Linked DNA regions of Homo sapiens: regions 1 and 3 are each linked to region 2. The links are contacts of gene promoters, found by promoter capture Hi-C in blood cells and fetal thymus (Javierre and others, 2016). All regions are on one chromosome and are shown on one strand. Each heading gives the region's core, a stretch centred on a gene start or on the middle of the fragment in contact. The rest is flanking DNA. Distances are from core to core; before and after follow the strand shown. Region 1 has its middle 1.9 kb from the start of LINC01816. Region 2 holds the start of MXD1 (MAX dimerization protein 1). Region 3 overlaps C2orf42 (chromosome 2 open reading frame 42).

Region 1 (2,700 bases), core at 195-2,694, 210 kb after region 2:
GTGCTGTAATTACAGGCGTGTGAGCCACCATGCCCGGCCACTTAGCATAATCTTTTCAAGGTTCATCCCTGCTGCAGCACGTATGAGAACTTCATTTCTTTTATTGTATTTGTGGTAATATGTACACAACATAAAGCTTATTTTAATCAATTTTTAAGTGTACAGTTTAGTGGCACTAAATAGTCACGTGGTTGTGCACTCACCACCATCATCCATCTCTAGAACTCTTCCATCATCCTAAACTGAAACTCTGTACCCGTGAAACAACTCCCTCATTCCCCTCTACCCAGCTCCTGGCAACCACCATTCTACTTTCTGTCCCTGTGCACTTGGGAGCATCACCTTTCTGGGACATCTGCAACGGTTCTCTGGAGGATTGTCTCCCCTTTTTTAAAAATTTATTTTCTTTTCTTTCTTTCTTTTTTTTTTTTGGTAGAGAAGGGGTTTCACTTCATTGCCCAGGCTGGTGTCCAACTTCTGGGCTCAAGGAATCTGCCTGCCTTGGCTTCCCAAAGTGTTGGGATTACAAGCATGAGCCACTGTGCCCCGCCTGTGGTCTCATTTTGGAGGGCAAGAGGGATAGAGATAGCCATAACCTGGAGAATATTGAGATGTGGACAACAAGGATGACAAAATTTGGTCCTATGAGAAATCATCTGTGAGGAAGAGTGGAGAGAACTGAGCTTGTTCAAGACAGTGAGGTCCTGGGATGATCTCAATTCATGTAAGAAAACCAGGAAGCAAGGAGGTTTCAGTTTATCAACAGATTTAAAAGGCGCAAGCCTTTTGATATAACTAGAGAAGAGAAGACTCAGGTGATCACACAGACTGTCTTCACCCAAGTGAAGGATGATTATGTAGGAAAGTGGATAGAAGATGCTGTCAACAGAAATGTAAACAGAATCATGTTAACAATTTTTCAGTAGGCACTTTTTTTTTTTTTTTTGAGATGGAGTCTTGCTCTGTTGCCCAGGCTGGTGTGCAGTGGTGCGATCTTGGCTCACTGCAGCCTCCTGGGTTCAAGCGATTCTCCTGCCTCAGCCTTCCGGGTGGCTGGGATTACAGGCATGCCATCATGCCCGGCTAATTTTTGTATTTTTAGTAGAGACAGAGTTTCACCTTGTTGGTCAGGATGGTCTCAAAACTCTTGACCTCAGGTGATCTGCCTGCCTCAGCCTCCCAAAGTGCTGAGATTACAGGCGTAAGCCATCACACCTGGCCAATTTTTAAATTAATAATGAGAGGCTGGGCATGGTGGCACACACCTGTGATTCCAGCTACTCAGAAGGCTGAGGTGGGAGGATCGTTTGAGCCCAGGAAGTTGAGGCTGCAGTGAGCTGTGTTCACACTAGTGCACTCCAGCCTGGGTGACAAAGCAAGACCCTGTTGAAAAAAAAATTTTTTAATAATGAGATATCTGACATTCTTTTTTTTACACTTGGTCTCTGAAATCAGGCTGGCTACATGTGAAGTGCTCTATAGCTACCTGCGGTCACTGTATTGGACAGTGCAGGGTTGGAAACTGGACTTAGGAGTCAGGGCTGGGTTCAAGCCCCACATTCCATCCCTTACTAGGCTGGGTAACTAGGCACATTACTTAGCCTCTCCTATTTCTGTTTCTTCATCTACAAAATGAAACTAAAAATAGTACCTACTTTATAGGGTAATTTTGTGGATTAATGGCACATGAAGCATATGGTGCATGTTCAGTAAATGTTGGCGATTATTAGCAGTAAATTTGGTGGTTATTGAATTAGTGACATTGCAGTATCACTGTTAGGGTGACCTCCATTCCCATCAGATGATGTGGCTTGAAGCTATTCCAAACGGGCAAGGTTAAAAAACAATAGGCAAACTGGGAAAACCTATTTGCAACACACATGAAAACAAAATGTTGTTATTCTTGCTATGTAGGAAGTGCTTGCAAATAAATAAGAAAATGAATACCAATGGAAAATTCAAAAGAAACAAACATCTGAAGTGATTTTTTTTAAAGACCCACTTTAAATAAGTTCAACTCTCCTTGGAATCAGACATAAAAATAAACAAAAGACATTTTTTGTTGTTGTTGAGTAACAGATCAACAGCCAGAATTTGGTGGCACCTAATATTGAAGAAGGTGTGGGGAGATACCTTCTCTTTTTAAATAAAGATTTCCTGAAGTTTCCATTGTTATATCTGACCACAGACTATCCAGAGAAACAAGCTGAGTTCTTGCTTCAAGGAGGAACTAGCCAGAGAGCCTTTTCTACCCACTTTTTCCCTTGTCCAGATAAAGCTAAACAGCCAACAAACCCCTCCTAGCAAGTTGACTTTTTTCTTGTCATGTGTGCAGACTCTGCACATTAGCTTTGCTAATAGTCCTTTACCACAGGTGTTGACATTTCACGTGGCTTGAAATAGCCCCCAGCATTGTTCTACATTTGGACAGGGCTGACATACTTAAGCCACAATACCCCCAGAATATTATTAGGCTTCTGGCTACCTCCTTCAGGAATGTTTTATCTGCCAGCAGGATTGGCTACATAATTTTTGGGGCCCAGGGGAAAATGAAAATATGGGCCCCTTTCTCATAAAAGGATGAAAAAAGCCCTTTCATTTTTTCTACAGTCTCTCTCTCAACCTGTCATGATGTTTTTATTTACTATTTATTGTTGTACTCCCTTGGACATGGAGATACTTCAGAGGTCAGTGCAGGCC
Region 2 (2,700 bases), core at 182-2,681:
GGTGCGGTGGCTCACGCCTGTAATCCCAGCACTTTGGGAGGCTGAGGTGGGTGGATCACCTGAGGTCAAGAGTTCGAGACCAGCCTGGCCAACATGGTGAAACCCCGTCTCTACTAAAAATACAAAAATTAGCCGGGCGTGGTGGTGGGCACCTGTAATCCCAGCTACTCAGAAGGTTGAGGCAGGAGAATCGCTTGAACCCGGGAGAAGGAGGTTGCAGTGAGCCGAGATCGCGCCATTGCACTCCAGCCTGGGCGACAAGAGCAAAACTCCCTTTCAAAACAAACAAACAAAAACAATAATCTTGTGAGTGTTTTCATCTAGAATTAAAAGGGAGGGGAAAACCCCAAAAGAGATTTAAGCAAAGAATCTTAGGGTTTAATGCCATTCTGTAGGTTCAGGAAGTCTCTGAGCTTTAAAAAGCCGCTCGCGTGAAAGTAATTAATTATTCCATCACTTCCCGGGGGTGGAGGGGGGTGCGGAAAAGGCGCATGAGCTCAATGCTGTATACTGCAGCCCGATTCCAGCTCTTTCTTGAGGGCAGAAAAAACGCCGAGCGGCGAGCATTTAACAACGGCCGGCTTTTCTTCTCAAGCCCCGCAGCAGCCACGTGGCGCCTGCCCTAGCTCCCGGCTCACCGGCCACTAGCCTGCACCGCTCTTCGGGAGGATTCGAGGCTGGGCCCTCGCCAGCCCGAGTTCCGCGAAGCCCAGAACCTCCAGGGCCGCGGCCACCAGACCGAGGGCTCCGGCCCCGAACCCAAGCGGGGCAGAGCGCCCAGGCGACACGAGGTGCCAGCCTTCCATTCGATGGACGCCTGGCAGGTCCCCGGAAGTTTTCCCCGGGGACAGGTCTTGGCAACAGGTCCGAGGCAAGGCCGGGTGGAGCAGAGCTCCGCAGCGGCTGGTGAATCAGCGCCGCCCAGCGCCGGACCGGCCCTCCCAGCCAATGCCAGACCCGGTGAGGAGCAGCCAGGCTGCTGACCATCAGCCACTTAGGGCTCGCCTGGCCTGGAGAAAGGTGACATCATCGTAGCTGGGAGGTTTCCGAAGGCTTCACCAATGGGAGACCGGCGAGGTGCTTGCCTTCTGCAGCTCTTGGCCAATACTAACAAAGCAAAAGGGGGCCCGGGTTGTTGGTATAGAACCAATGGGAAACAAGGAAGGAGCACGAGGCGGAGTTGCGAATCCTGTCACCAGTTGGAAAGAGGGGGTGGAGCCCGGGCCTTGTCAAGTGTGACCAACCAGCGAGAGGAGCGGACTTTGCGGGGTGGAGCCCTGAAGCCCTCTCCCAATCGCACAAGTGTAGGGGCGGGGCATTCTTTGGGGGGCCCAATGAGGAACGCGGCCGAAGCTGGCCTGTCAAGAGAAGGGGCTGGGGGCGGGGAGATGGTGAGTCGGGGATAAACACTCCGCGGCGGTGGCGGCTGCTGCTCTGCTCCGGGTTCTGTCACTGTGTCGGCGGTGCCCAGCTCACTGGCCCCCTCCCTCTCTTGTCGAGCGTGGTTGCCAGAGAGGCTCCCTCAGCCCTGCTCCGCGGGGTCCACAGCGGGCTCCACAGCGGGCTCCATAGCGGGCTCCACAGCGGTCCGGCGGCGGCAGCGAGCCCGTGGGCAGTGGGGGTTGGTCCCGTGGCTCCGGCCCCCGGTGCAGAATGGCGGCGGCGGTTCGGATGAACATCCAGATGCTGCTGGAGGCGGCCGACTATCTGGAGCGGCGGGAGAGAGGTGCACGGGGACGGGGAGGGGTCCACTCGAAACGAGGCCGGGGGTCCTGTGGGGCCGGCCTCAGGTCCGGGCGCCCAGCCGCTCCGGGGGTGGTTGGAGGCGGGGAGACCGCGAGCGCTCCCAACCCCTCTGGCTCTCCCCACGCGCGGTCCGAAGGGAAGCCGCCGCTGCCCCAAAGCAATGAATGGGGTGGAGAAGGGGCTGCCGCCCGCCGGGGTCCCGAACGCCGCCCCTTCCCCAGCCCTTCACGAGTGGGTGGCCGGGGCCCCCTCCGATAGCCTCCCTGGTTTACCTCACCCGGGCTGGTCCCGGCCGGCCCCCAGGTGGGCCCGGCGCCCCAGTCTCCTGGGCAGAGGAGCAGCGCCTCCCGGTCCCCGGCTCACGGTGCTTGCCCCGCACCTTCGCCTGAGCTGGTTCCACTTAACCCGCACCAACCTGCTGGATGTAGCCAGTGGGAAACCCAGGCTGCGTGAGCCTAGCCACTACTGTGTCTTTCTCAACAATGAGCAGCTGGAATCCTCCTTACACCTGCTCCGAATTGACGATATTCACACAATTTTTTTTTAAATCATTGTTCTCAGAATTCCACCTTACTCCATTTAATTATTTCCACAATATTCTTTTAAAGATAAATAAAGGAAAAAGGAAATACTGTAGAGAGGAGAGAGCATTAAATATTCTGGGCCCATTCATTAACTGGATCCTCCTGTTTTCTAGAAGCTGAACATGGTTATGCCTCCATGTTACCATACAATAACAAGGACAGAGATGCCTTAAAACGGAGGAACAAATCCAAAAAGAATAACAGCAGTAGCAGGTAATTTGGTAAATACTTCTTTCTGTCTTTTAGATTATATTGTAGGTGACACAAACTGCTGAATGTAAGTTTTCTGTTGTGATTATAACCCTATAAAATTACATTGTGGCCGTCATGATTCAGTAATGTACACATGGACTTAAGCCATTGCAGGAAG
Region 3 (2,700 bases), core at 94-2,593, 250 kb after region 2:
AACAAAGAAAGACCCAGTGTCTATAAAAAAAAATTTTTTTTTTGAGATGGAGTCTCACTCTGTTGCCCAGGCTGGAGTGCAATGGCATGATCTCGGCTCACTGCAACCTCTGCCTCCCGGGTTCAAGCAATCCTCCTGCCTCAGCCTCCTGAGTAGCTGTGACTACAGGCGTGCACCACCACGCCTGGCTAATTTTTGTATTTTTAGTAGAGATGGGGTTTCACCATGTTGGCCAGGCTGGTCTCAAACTCCTGACCTCGTGATCCACCCACCTCGGCCACCCAAAGTGCTGGGATTACAGGCGTGAGCCACCGTGCCTGGCCAAAATTTTTTTTTAAATTAGCCAGGCGTGGTGGTATGCACCTGCTGTCCCAGCTACTTGGGAGGCTGAGGTGGGAGGATCAACTGAGTCGAGGAGGTTGAGGCTGCAGTAAGCCATGATCACGCCACTGCACTCCAGCCTGGGCAACAGAGTGAGACCCTCCCTCAAAAAGGAAAAAAAAAGAAAAGAAAAGAGAGGCCAGGCGTGGTGACTCACACCTGTAATCCCAGCACTTTGGGAGGCCGAGGTGGGTGGATTACCTGAGGTCAGGAGTTCGAGACCAGCTTGGCCAACATGGTGAAAACCCATCTCTACTAAAAAAAAAAAAAAAAAAAAAAATTAGCTGGGCATGGTGGTGTGTGCCTGTAATTCCAGCTACTCAGGAAGCTGAGGCAGGAGAATCGCTTGAACCCAGGAGGCAGAGGTTGCAGTGAGCCGAGATCATGCCACTGCACTCTAGCTTGGGCAACAGGGTGAGACTCCACTGAAAAAAAAGAAAAAAGACAATGAAAAAACAAACCAACACAGTAGACCCTTGTCATCCACCAAGTATAACATTTCAAATCCGCAAATTTTAAAAAGACCAACACAGCACAGACTTTCCCCCTTAAAGGGTATGCGAAGTAAGATGGGATGAGAACAATGAGGCCGAGGTGGCTGCCTCCACTTGATTCCCTTTTGCTCGCTATCCCCAGGTTCTTGCTATTTGCATTCATGTCTAAGCAAACTAATGACATGCTCTCTCACCCGATGGTCAGCACCATGAATGCTGAGGGACTACAAGTTAGGACACTGCTTACCCAGCAAGCATCTGTCTTTCTCTCTGAATATGACCTCAAGGCAGGTAAAATACTTGAAAGTACTTAACCAACCTCTTAAAGAACCTTGCGGCCAGGCACAGTGGCTCACACCTGTAATCCCAGCCCTTTGGGAGGATGAGGCAGGTGGATCACCAGGTCAGGAAATTGAGACCATCCTGGCTAACATGGTGAAACTCCATCTCTACTAAAAATACAAAAAATTAGCCGGGCATGGTGGCATGCGCCTGTAGTCCCAGCTACTTGGGAGGCTGAGGCAGGAGAATCGCCTGAACCTGGGAGGCGGAGGTTGCAGTGAGCCAAGATCACGCCACTGCACTCCAGCCTGGGCGACAGAGTGAGACTCTGTCTCAAAAAAAAAAAAAGAAAAGAAACTTGTCAGACATTAGGTCAACAAAAAGAGTTAAGGGGAGGGGGTCAAGTGAGTTCAGTCTTTCTTAAAAATTCTGTCCAGACCAGGTGTGGTGGCTCACACCTGTAATTCCAACACTTTGGGAGGCCTAGGCAGGCGGATCACTTGAGGTCAGAAGTTCGAGACCAGCCTGGCCAACATGGTGAAACCCTGTCTCTATTAAAAATACAAAAATTAGCCAGGAGTGGTGACACATGCCTATAATCCCAGCTACTCAGGAGGCTGAAACACGAGAATTTCTTGAGCCTGGGAGGTGGAGGTTGCAGTGAACTGAGATTGTACCACTGCACTCCAGCCTGTGTGACAGAGCAAGACTGTCTCAAAAAATAAAAAAGAATTAACTTCAAAAAGGTAAAACACACACACTCATAGTCAAGGAGCGAGCTGATGGAAACCTGGACAAAGGTGGTAGTAATGGAGATGGTAAGATGGAATAGAGGGTGGTACAGGAATGGGATGGAAGAGGGAATAGGATGGGATGGAAGAGGACTACAAGTGTTTAGCTTATAGTATTATCAATATTCTGTTTTCTGGGCTGGGCACGGTGGTTCACGCCTGTAATCCCAGCACTTTGGGAGGCCGAGGTAGGTGGATCACCTGAGGTCAGGAGTTCAAGACCAGCCTGGTTAACATGGTGAAACCCCATCTCTACTAAAAATACAAAAAATTGGCCAGGCATGGTGGTGCGTGCCTGTAATCCCAGCTACTTGGGAGGCTGAGGCAGGAGAATTGCTTGAACCTGGGAGGTGGAGATTACAGTGAGCCAAGATCACGCCACTGCACTCCAGCCTGGGCGACAAGTGATTCACCTACCTCAGCCTCCTGAGTAGTTGGGACTACAGGCCTCTGCCACCATGCCCAGCTATAGGATCCTTTTTTTTTTTTTTTGAGATGGAGTCTCACTTAGTCACCCAGGCTGGAGTGCAGTGGTGCAATCTCAGATCACTGTAAGCTCCACCTCCTGGGTTCACGCCATTCTCCTGCCTCAGCCTCCCGAGTAGCTGGGACTACAGGCACCCGCCACCACACCTGGCTAATTTTTTTGTATTTTTAGTAGAGATGGGGTTTCACTGTGTTAGCCAGGATGGTCTCAATCTTCTGACCTCGTGATCCGCCCGCCTCAGCCTCCCAAAGTGCTGGGATTACAG

What was found. The method cuts DNA at HindIII sites, captures the fragments that hold promoters and counts their contacts. A CHiCAGO score of 5 or more calls a contact.
Region 1: a fragment that was not itself captured here is called in contact with the fragment with the promoter of MXD1 in region 2 in 10 of 17 cell types (monocytes, naive CD4 T cells, neutrophils and 7 more); the score reaches 11.9 in monocytes.
Region 3: a fragment that was not itself captured here is called in contact with the fragment with the promoter of MXD1 in region 2 in 15 of 17 cell types (non-activated CD4 T cells, naive CD4 T cells, naive CD8 T cells and 12 more); the score reaches 12.5 in non-activated CD4 T cells.

The regions. Positions count from the first base shown.
Region 1 is chr2:70,125,877-70,128,576 of GRCh38, forward strand. No RefSeq gene overlaps it. Among named protein-coding and RNA genes, the nearest start is that of LINC01816, 1.9 kb to the left of the region's middle. The HindIII fragment of the contact is 2,621 bases long and covers 135-2,700 here.
Region 2 is chr2:69,913,678-69,916,377 of GRCh38, forward strand. It overlaps MXD1 (MAX dimerization protein 1), which reads left to right and starts at 1,432. Exons shown (of 6, transcript NM_002357.4): 1 at 1,432-1,726; 2 at 2,444-2,543. The coding sequence starts at 1,654. RefSeq lists enhancers at 596-645, 658-1,263, 746-855, 956-1,155 and a silencer at 1,806-2,035. The HindIII fragment of the contact is 7,248 bases long and covers 1-2,700 here.
Region 3 is chr2:70,165,866-70,168,565 of GRCh38, forward strand. All of the region lies in intron 6 of C2orf42 (chromosome 2 open reading frame 42), which reads right to left. Among named protein-coding and RNA genes, the nearest start is that of C2orf42, 24 kb to the right of the region's middle. The HindIII fragment of the contact is 4,037 bases long and covers 1-2,700 here.